Regions from separate parts of the Homo sapiens genome. Here all the other regions are linked to region 1. The links are contacts of gene promoters, found by promoter capture Hi-C in blood cells and fetal thymus (Javierre and others, 2016). All regions are on one chromosome and are shown on one strand. Each heading gives the region's core, a stretch centred on a gene start or on the middle of the fragment in contact. The rest is flanking DNA. Distances are from core to core; before and after follow the strand shown. Region 1 holds the start of DNAJC7 (DnaJ heat shock protein family (Hsp40) member C7). Region 2 overlaps STAT5A (signal transducer and activator of transcription 5A). Region 3 overlaps ATP6V0A1 (ATPase H+ transporting V0 subunit a1).

The links. The method cuts DNA at HindIII sites, captures the fragments that hold promoters and counts their contacts. A CHiCAGO score of 5 or more calls a contact.
Region 2: a fragment that was not itself captured here is called in contact with the fragment with the promoter of DNAJC7 in region 1 in 1 of 17 cell types (fetal thymus); the score reaches 5.3 in fetal thymus.
Region 3: a fragment that was not itself captured here is called in contact with the fragment with the promoter of DNAJC7 in region 1 in 5 of 17 cell types (fetal thymus, erythroblasts, naive CD8 T cells and 2 more); the score reaches 7.4 in fetal thymus.

The regions. Positions count from the first base shown.
Region 1 is chr17:42,015,423-42,018,874 of GRCh38, forward strand. It overlaps DNAJC7 (DnaJ heat shock protein family (Hsp40) member C7), which reads right to left and starts at 2,017. Exons shown (of 14, transcript NM_003315.4): 1 at 1,918-2,017. The coding sequence starts at 1,994. It also overlaps a transcript of NKIRAS2 not described here. RefSeq lists enhancers at 1,226-2,425, 1,536-1,585, 1,656-2,065 and a silencer at 2,176-2,325. The HindIII fragment of the contact is 9,207 bases long and covers 782-3,452 here.
Region 2 is chr17:42,307,589-42,310,963 of GRCh38, forward strand. It overlaps STAT5A (signal transducer and activator of transcription 5A), which reads left to right. Exons shown (of 19, transcript NM_001288718.2): 15 at 5-135; 16 at 590-745; 17 at 1,459-1,510; 18 at 1,789-1,896; 19 at 2,919-3,375. The coding sequence ends at 3,081. Among named protein-coding and RNA genes, the nearest start is that of STAT5A, 21 kb to the left of the region's middle. RefSeq lists an enhancer at 3,303-3,352. The HindIII fragment of the contact is 2,189 bases long and covers 246-2,434 here.
Region 3 is chr17:42,516,074-42,519,627 of GRCh38, forward strand. The region is part of intron 21 of ATP6V0A1 (ATPase H+ transporting V0 subunit a1); the gene reads left to right. Among named protein-coding and RNA genes, the nearest start is that of MIR5010, 3.7 kb to the left of the region's middle. RefSeq lists an enhancer at 534-1,033 and a silencer at 1,477-1,526. The HindIII fragment of the contact is 3,596 bases long and covers 386-3,554 here.

The sequences.
Region 1 (3,452 bases), core at 767-3,266:
TGATAGACTATCCTCTAAGGCTGTGATTGAAGAAATGTATTTGCTTAAGATAGGAGGCTATGAAATGAAGTCCAAAATAGGGACACTCTACATCAGAGATTTACAATGAGTAGGGTGAGTTTTTAAAATTACCTATGGCCAGCCCGGCACAGTAGCTCACGCCTGTAATCCCAGCACTTTGGGAGGCCGAGGTGGGCGGATCACGAGGTCAGGAGATCGAGACCATCGTGGCTAACAGGGTGAAACCCCATCTCTACTAAAAATACAAAAAAAAAACAACAATTAGCCGGATGTGGTGGTGGGCACGTGTAGTCCCAGCAACTGGTGAGGCTGAGGCAGGAGAATGGTGTGAACTCAGGAGGCGGAGCTTGCAGTGAGCTGAGGTCGCGCCACTACACTCCAGCCTGGGCGACAGAGCGAGATTCCGTCTCAAAAAATAAAAAATAAATAACCTGTGGCCAAATCCCTATTTACAGTATAAAGAACCACTGAACTCTTTCCAAATACAAGTAAATCTCTACAATTAATTTAAGCTCCGTCTGCACTGGGAGGAATTTTGTTTCCCATTGTGCAGCTCTTTAATGATGTATAAGGGTTGATGATGCTTAGCTTTAAATATCTAGGAAGAAGTAGGAACAACATGAAAGCTCAAAATTAAGAACAGAGACTGGACTCTGGTGTCCTGGCTTCTCTGATATCCCAGGGGCCTATTACACTTTGTCAGGCCCCTCAGCTCCCAGCAGATCAGGAACTTGAGATCTGGCTGTGGTAACCACCCTCAAGCTTGATAACTATTCATTGCGTCCGAGTACTTCTTATATTTCGAACTCATTAGATAGTAAAAATCTCAGAATCCTGATTTCAGATCTCATGAACTAATTCTACATCACCGCCTCAAATTACCCAGCCTGAAGACACAACGGGCTTGGTATGAAGATATAAAGTATGTTGCAAAGAGACTGAGGGCACTGTAGATATCTTGAACAAAAGGGTCAGACTAACCCGCAGCTGATAAGGAAAGGGCTCCAAACTTCTAGAACCTTCTTGTCAATTCTGCTTTAGGATTAGAACAAGTATGACTACCCACAACTCTGTTCCAACCCCACTTCCAATAATCTGGCCTAACTGTTGCCAGAATCTAGAGCGTTCTCGAAAACCACTCACTCAGCAGCTCCCTTGGCTAGTCCGACTGGCAATCTCGAACCACTGCGGCTGCTTCGGAGTGCCAACAGCGCCCAAGCAGTTGCCCTCTTCCTTGGTGCTTAACTTAAGAAAGAACAGTGCTGGGAAGGATAAAGATCACCCAGGAAGGACAGGGGAAGAGGAGTCTGACGTAGAGAACACGAGATAAGCCCCTCGCTCTTCCTTTTTTTCTCTGTCATCTTTGACTTCTGGGATAACCGGGGGCAACCAGGTCAATTATGGAGACACACAATCACTTCGAACCCAGACTAGTGATCGCTGGGGTATAATTACAAGGGAAAACGGGGTGAGGAGAGCAAAGGTTTTGGAGACGGAAAGTGCAGACAGGCAACAATGCACAGAAGTTAACAAGAGAACGCGGGGGTCGGGGGCGATGTAAGGAAGTCGTCATCGACGCCGCGCCGCTTCCCCCACCTCGCACCAGACCTCTGAAATTGCCCTCGGAGACTCGGCCTCTCCTATAAGGACGATCGTCCTCTCAGCTGGAGAACAAGGCCATGCCTCAGCTCCTACGCCAGGCGGAAGCGGGAGAGGAAGGCCGACCCCCAAGAGCGCCCCTTCAGGGGGTCCATCCGGCCTTGATCTCAGATGGGGGGGTGTTTGCGGAGGGCGGGGCATCGCCTCAACAGCTGGGGGCTGCATCATGGCAGGAACGAGTTTCCCTGAGCCACGGAGCTGCAGGTCGCCTCCTCTACTACCCTGCTACCCGGTTACCTCTTCGCCTCTTGGTCGTCGAGCAGCTCCGGCTCGGTCGCCGCCATTACCACATCGCACTCCGCGGCAGCCGCCATCTTACCGCCGGGACCAGAGAGCTGGGTGGGAGGCCGGCGGTGAAGAGCACTTCCGGTTGGAGCATAGAGCAGCTCCGCGGCGCCGCGCCCAGAAGGGCTCCCTCGGGCTCGTCTACCAGAGAGAGGCTCCGCTTGGGGCCAGAGCGGCCTCCCGCCCCCGGATGTCCACGGTGGTCTCCGCGCCGGGGCGGGAGCCCAGGGGCTGTGCCGGTGCGTAGGCGGCGCCACTTTACCCGTGGGTGGGAAGGCGGGGTGTACCGGTGGTAGCCTCTCTAGGGCTTGGCTGCTTTCAGTATTCCAAGAGCCTCATTGCCATAGCAACTTCCAATCCTAGAGAGTCTTCCTGAAAGGCTCCGTGGAGTCTGGGTTGCGTGGGGACCAGGTGACCCAAGACTCTGTAGGGAAGGAGTCCCCACTGCTACCTTTCCGACCTTGGAGTGTGTCCACAGCTTCTTCCCGGGAAAGTCAAGAGACACTTTGAGCTCAGTTCCCCCAGCTTTCATCGTTCTCTGGAAGCCCTGCCCAGTCAAGCCAGGGGAACGCAGGGCGTCTTCACCCTGCGCCTTTCATCCACTCCGGATCTCCAAACACCAACTGGTTCATCACCCTAATGACGCTGACCCTTTTACAAGGCTCCTTTCATGTCAGCCGCCTGGGAGTGCCATCTCAGCATTAAGCCTAGGAAAGCTGACACATGGCGCCCCAGACCCTGCCCTGGAGTTTATAAGGAAGCTCGCGGGGTGAGGTCCTTGCTCTTGTGTCCCCAGTACTCCCACCTCTTATATAAACTCTCTACTCATCACGCTTGCCTTGCCGAATGCGGTCTGGATTGAGAATTCATAGGGGACAAGGGCACAGTTTAACTGTCTTTGTTGTTATTCCCTCACCCAAACGACTATTTGTGGAGCTGAATTAAATTGGAGCTTTCTGGGGTTAAATTGGAGGAGTATGAGGAGTAGCTTTACAATGTAAAGCTAAGAGTAAAATAAGAAGAGGGCAAAGGAATTTTAAAAGGATTTACCTGTTTGTTCCAGGAAAACAGCATGTGCCAATGCTCATACTCTGCCTATCCCAGTGTGGAGGGAGCTGAAACCACAGCGACCACTGAGTAGGGAGGGATAGGACAAGCTCACTAGGTTGGAAAGGAGGGGTCATTCGTTGAGCCAATCACTCAGCCCTTTCCAAAACGCCTACTCTGTGCTAGGTTGTGAGGGCACAAGACTTACAGACCACCTGCCCTGCCTGCCAGTGGCTCATAGTCCAGTCTAATGCTAGCCAACCTGTCTCACCATCTTCCCACTTTATGTTCTATCTAAGGCAACTCATTTATTCCCACAGCTTTACTTCCATCTGTTGATGACTCTCAACTTTTCATATCTCCAACCTAGACCTTTCTTCAGCTTCCACAGCTGTATATCCAACTATCTACTGGATATCTCTTGTATGTTTCACAAATCC
Region 2 (3,375 bases), core at 90-2,589, 290 kb after region 1:
CCAGGGCCATCCTAGGTTTTGTGAATAAGCAACAGGCCCACGACCTGCTCATCAACAAGCCCGACGGGACCTTCTTGTTGCGCTTTAGTGACTCAGAAATCGGGGGCATCACCATCGCCTGGAAGTTTGACTCCCGTGAGTGCCCGTTTTGCCCACACTCCAGCCCCAAGGCCCGGTCTCTTGTTCCCTTGCCCCGCCACCCCACCCTCCATCGGGCCTGTGTCCTTAGAAGGTACCCAGCGGGAAGCTTAGTATGAGAGGGCTGTGGCTTGGAAATGTATTCTCTTTCTATTGTTTTCCATTTTGGAGAACCTGAAGTCCCCAGCCCCATAGACTCCAGGACGGCTGGGCGAGTCCTCCTGCAGTTTCACGCTCTCCCCTCTCTGCCACGACCCAGCCTTGTTGGTATCTGCTCATCTGGTTTGCTGAGTAGAACATCCCGCATCGGCTTTCTTCCCTACAGGCTGGGGCTGCAGCGCAAGCTACTATATAAAAGCCCAGATTTCTCTTGCAAGCCTGCCCTAAAGCCCCACAACCTTGGTCCTCCTGCTGCTGGTGGATTATGGGAATGAGGCTGTTCTTTTCACAGCGGAACGCAACCTGTGGAACCTGAAACCATTCACCACGCGGGATTTCTCCATCAGGTCCCTGGCTGACCGGCTGGGGGACCTGAGCTATCTCATCTATGTGTTTCCTGACCGCCCCAAGGATGAGGTCTTCTCCAAGTACTACACTCCTGTGCTGGGTGGGTACTGCCCCAGGACCCTGCCGGCTGACTCCCCCGGGCTCTTCCCCAGCCCATAGACAAAGCCTTGGGCTGCGCCGTGGGGACTTCCCCAGGAGGAGCCTAGGGGCCATGTCCCCTGTGGGTTTTGGCCCATGGGGTGGTGGAGAGGATTTCAGGGCTCACAAATGAGGAGAGGGAACGAGAAACCCGTCCCAGCTCTCTTCTCTGCAAAGTGAAAGCTGCATGGATTCTCACTTCTGCACCCTCGGAGGAAGGGGTGGCAGCACTGTAGGGAGTGGCCGGGATCATTCGAGCCCACAGATAGTGCTCCGCTCCCCACCTCACCAGCTGCTCTCCACACCCTGCTCACAAACCTTCCCCCGAGTGGAGTGCAGGCAGCAAAAGGGAGAAGTCTCTCTTCTTCCAGCTGCCCCAAATCCATTGGTTGGGTTTGCTTGTTGATTCTCATTCTTTGACAGGGGTGGGAGCAGGGAGAGGGAAATCAGATGGCCAGAAAAAGAACCAGAAGGAATGGGATTCAAGCCAGGGGTCTCAGTGACCCTCAGGCAGGATTCATCAGCTGGTGTTTATTGGGGGTCCTTGGGAAATCTCATCCCAGCTGAGAACACAAGGTGATGTGAGCAGGAGGGAGACTACATGGGGCGTGGGCTTCCACCCCACTTGGGAGTTCCCAGAGACTTTGGTTCTCACCACTGTTCTTCCCTTGACAGCTAAAGCTGTTGATGGATATGTGAAACCACAGATCAAGCAAGTGGTCCCTGAGTAAGTGTCCAGGTGGCTGTGGCTCTCCTTCTGCCTCTTTCCTCCTCCCCCAGACCCTGCCTCCCATCCTGATCCTGGGCCCAGCTTTCCGCTCCCCCAGGGAACCTGTCTCAGCCCTGGGGAGGGAGTCCCCTCTCCTGTAGCTGGAGCCCCAGGGCCGAGTGGGGCACTTTGTCCGTCTACACCCCGAGAAAGACAAACATGCCCCTCGGTCCCCTCCCCAAGTCAGCTGCCCCGGCCTCCCTGGTGGCTGAAGCTCTGTTCTCTTCCTTCTGCAGGTTTGTGAATGCATCTGCAGATGCTGGGGGCAGCAGCGCCACGTACATGGACCAGGCCCCCTCCCCAGCTGTGTGCCCCCAGGCTCCCTATAACATGTACCCACAGAAGTAGGTGGTGTTCTCATGGGGTCCGCAGGGGAAGAACTGGGGACTTGGCCCCAGGCTGGACTCCTGGAGGGCTGGCGGGCAAAGGATCCAGAGCTCTGGTTAGGCCCAAGTCCAGGAGGAGTGAGATCAGCCAGGAAAACAGAGCATTTTGAAGCTAGACATAGCAGGGTCAAGTCCTCACTCTAGTACTAACTGTGTGATCTTGGGAAAATGATTGAGCCTCTCTGATGCTCAAGTTTCCTTATGTGTAAAACGGAGGCAAGAATGCTTGCCTCATGAGAATGGGATGAGCATTAAACTGAGACAGTGTGGGTGAAGCATTTCCACAGGGAGGGGCTTGGAAGGGCTTGATACAGGGTAGCTATGAATGGGGTGGTTGTTCTTGAGTCTGGTGGGAACAAGGTAGATAATTAATTCCCTTCCTCACTGTGGATAGCCAGGGCTGGATGTCTGGGAGGTACCACCTTCCAGTGGGACCACTGAAGATCCCAGGTTCCAATCCGGACTCCACCACCTCCCAGCCAGGTGGCCCAGAGCAAGCTTCCTGATATGGCCTTGGTTTTCTCGTCTATAAAACGGGGTCAATACCCACTCTCCAGTTGGCTGTAAAAATTGGAGTCATGTGCTCAATAGGCTCAGCTGTTCTAGGTGCTCAGTGAAAAGATTCAGCTGTTCTAAGTGCTCAGTGAACGGGGCGGTGCCTACCATTGCAGCTGAGCATCATTGCAGGTGGGCAGAGCCCACTGTGTCAGCCACCTGGTTTTAAGATGAGGACACGGAGAGGGGAAATGAATTCCCTAAGATTATTCAGTGAGTTAGCAAGAGATGCGAATAGAGTGGGGGTCTGCAGAAGCCAGTGGGCTGACTGCTACCCAGCTTGGGGTGGGGTGGGGGCATCCAGCCAGAACTGGTCCTGTTCTCATGAGACGGGTTTGAGTGGAGAGCAGGCTGGAGGCTGTCCCCAGGGAGCTTGAGGCTGTGAGACATGCCAGCTCCCTCTGACATCCCCCTGTCTTTACCAGCCCTGACCATGTACTCGATCAGGATGGAGAATTCGACCTGGATGAGACCATGGATGTGGCCAGGCACGTGGAGGAACTCTTACGCCGACCAATGGACAGTCTTGACTCCCGCCTCTCGCCCCCTGCCGGTCTTTTCACCTCTGCCAGAGGCTCCCTCTCATGAATGTTTGAATCCCACGCTTCTCTTTGGAAACAATATGCAATGTGAAGCGGTCGTGTTGTGAGTTTAGTAAGGCTGTGTACACTGACACCTTTGCAGGCATGCATGTGCTTGTGTGTGTGTGTGTGTGTGTGTCCTTGTGCATGAGCTACGCCTGCCTCCCCTGTGCAGTCCTGGGATGTGGCTGCAGCAGCGGTGGCCTCTTTTCAGATCATGGCATCCAAGAGTGCGCCGAGTCTGTCTCTGTCATGGTAGAGACCGAGCCTCTGTCACTGCAGGCACTCAATGCAGCCAGAC
Region 3 (3,554 bases), core at 934-3,433, 500 kb after region 1:
CTCACTGGTGTGCCTTAGAGGCCCCTGGATGGGATGCTCTGTGGTGTTCATGATCTCAAGGCCAGAAGAGGACTATGAATGTCTCTCTTCGTTCTCAAAACCTGAAGAAAATCCAGCATCTGAACCTGAGAAACTCATTCCCCACTCCCCTTTATCTTTGATTATTCTCATGGCTGGGTGACCCCTGAGCCTCCTCAAAGATTCAGCTGTGGGTTTTTCTGAATGATGGGCGGAGAGTGAGGCATGGAAGGGCAAGACGTGGCTAGGGTGCACTCTTCTTCAAAAGCCCTGCTGCGTCAGTAGACCTGGCTTCCTCTGGCCTGGCTCTCTCCCTCCTGGCCTCCCTCCTCCCCACCCAGCTCATCTGGCTGGCCTCCCTGTTCTAAGCTTATCAGCCGACCCCCGCAAGCACACTTCCTCAGCCCTCCTCAGTGCACGAGAACCTCTGAGGACTCACTTTTTCTTGCCCCTTGGCCTCCTTTCTTTTCTTTTCACTCCTGTCTCTTGAGCCCTGGGTTTGAGGGAACAGTGACCACCTCACCTTGATTCCAGCCCACGTGGGTAGCCGGTCATCTCCCTGGGCAGGGCGGGAGCAAGGCACTGTTGCAGAGCAAGGCCGCCTGGGCTTGAGCCTCATTTTGTTGCCAGAAGATTGCTTCCTCCTCAGGCTCACCTGTGGCCTCCCCGTGTCTTCCCAGGTCCCCCTGAACTGAAGTGATGAGTGGCAGGACAGCAGGCTCCGGAATTGGGCGACCTGGGTTGGAATTCCAGCACTGTCACACCAGGCAGGGAACCTGAGCAGAACATTCACTGCCAAGATTACTGTGAGCAAGTAGGAAGTAATGCACACACCAAGTGCTGCCACAGCAAAAGCAGGTGCTCTAGGATGGGTAGTGGCTGCTCTGCTTAAAAGTGGGATGCCCTTACTGGGTGCGATGGCTCACACCTATAATCCCAGCATTCTGGGAGGCTGAGGCAGGCAGATCACCTGAGGTCAGGAGTTCGAGACCAGCCTGGACAACATGGTGAAACCCCATCTCTACTAAAAATGCAAACATTAGCTGGGCGTGATGGTGGGCGCCTGTAATCCCAGCTACTCGGGAGGCTGAGGCAAGAGAATCGCTTGAACCCAGGAGATGGAGGTTGCAGTGAGCCAAGATCGCGCCACTGCACTGCAACCTGGGCGACAGACCGAGACTCCGTCTCAAAACAACAACAACAACAACAACAACAAAAAAACCTGGGATGCCCTAGAGAGAGGGTGTCTGCCTGGGGTCCCCCATAAAAAGACTGCTTTTAGCCTGTCTAGAGTGAGAGAAGACCCCAGAGGAGGCAGAGGATACCATCAGAATGCCCTCAGGTGCTGTTTGCAAGGAACAGCCTCCCCATATATGTCGTATTTATTTTGGCAATAGGAGTATTGGGTAGGAGAGGAAAAAACAGTGCAAACCTCCTTTGTGCAACTTCCAGAATCTCGTCTTTGGAGGGCTGTTCCCGTGACACGAGTGGGGCGCCTCCCCCACCACTAAAACAGAAGTGAATGAAATTGGTGCTTGTGCGCCCCCTCCTGGCAAAATGCGGCTGTGCGTCCAGGATGCCTGGATCTTCCCTGTGGCCCAGGACTGCAGGAGGCGTTCTGAGCTGTGGCCCTCTTACCAGGGGTGGAGCCTCTGGGGCTGCTGAACCAGCTGTAGGGATGGTGCTGCTGTTCTTCCTGGCATCCATCCTAGGCATCTTCATACCTCCCACTTTATCCCTGCTGTTTCCTGATTCAAGGGCTGCCCCATTATACAAGTTCTGGTCTCCTCAGTGGGGACAATAAGAAAAACATTTGATTCGATAACATATAAACCACTAGTGTGAGATTCATGCAGCATCATAGGAAGGGGGGTGATGTGTTTGAAAACAGTGAGCAGGCTAATGTATTAATCTGCTAATTCTGTCTCCTGAGTTTTCTCTCTTTTCCTCCCTCCTGCCACATGAAGTGTGCTTGGCTTCTTACCTACCATAATTAGACATCTTTTCTTCCTCAGAGAAGGCATGAGACAGGGATTTGATTGTAGTTATCACTGTAAACATCAAACTGATTTTTATGCAGAACTATTGCCCCAGGGCATACCTTCCAAGGAACCTGGTCTCTCCTTACCTAGCGAATTCCACATACACATAGATGTACACCTACCTGTACACTCACAGATTGGGTGGTGATTAAAGGGACAGAATCGGGGACCAGCTTCTTGTTAGGAATGCAGTGTTGCCACGGCATGACAGCATGGAGCAGTTGAGGGAATGGCTGCCCAGGAGAACTCAGAACTCTTGAAATGTAGTTCCAGGCTGCCATCATTGCCCTGATATTCAGGCCGTCAGACAGATGTGTGTTGTAGGCCCTGAACGGCACAGAGAGTGGCAGAACAGGCTACATAAACAGCTCAGCCCAGAATTGTCTTTCCAGACTGCCTGCCCTCAGTCACAACCCCCACCAGGGAAGGGAAGCGGCCCCAAGACTCCTTCCTCCTTCACCCACTCGAGGAAACAGAGTTCCTGTTACGTGGCATGAATGATGTCTTTTGGCCCCAGTTAATCCCTCTGAGTCACCAGGTGGCCTTTGCCAAGTGCTGGAGCTGGAAGAGATGATAGAGACACTCATCTGGCGTCCTGAGGCTCTCCTCACAGCTGTTGAATTCTAGAGGTGCATTTCAGTGTCTTGGGGCATGGCAAGACTTTGGAGGCTCCCTGAGCAGAGCAGTGGAGATGCCCAAAAAGAAGGAAGAACCTAGGATGGCAGATGGGGCCCCCCTTGCCCTGGGGAACTTCATGTTTGTACTTTCTCAGGAAGCACACATTTCCCCAGTTCAGCGGGAGAGAGTGGGGAGACTAGCAGGGAAATTGCTTTCCAGCTTTGTGCTGGGTGGTTGGGGTGAGGGTGGCCACGGAAGGAGGTGAAATCAGGCTGACCTCAAGATAGACCCAAGATGTCCCAGTTCTGGCCGCTCTAAGTCTCTAAAGCAGCAGCTGGTGGGAGGGGCAGTATTGGGCAGTATGTCAGGGAGGCCACCTGTCTGCTCACACAGTACAATTGATGTGCCCCTCCCAGGCATATATCCCTCTTCCTCCTTGCTGGGCCCCCATGGGTAGATAAGGTGACTGGAGGGGTGCCAAGAAAAGGGCGGTGCCCCCACAGGCATCTGAAAACAAAGCTGCTGCTCCATTTGCCCAGTTTGAAGATTAGAATGGTTTTGTGATTAGCCAGGAGGGGGTGGGGGTCAGAGTTCTGGACACCTCACTGGAGTCGGGGGTCAGCATACCCTACCAAGGCTGACATTCACTCCTAGGTAATGGCCTGGGACCCTCAGGTGACTTGTCCACTCTCTGGCTATGTATTGTTGAATGAAAAGGGGACATGTAAATCTCGTTTCAGCTGTTCTGAAATAACCCTTGCCACATGGGAACACAGTCTATTCAACATGAAGAATTCAAACCTAACACAAGTGGGTGAGAAGCAGGAACCCACTGCTAGGCCCCACCGCGTTCCCTCAGAGGTGGTCTCAGTAGCT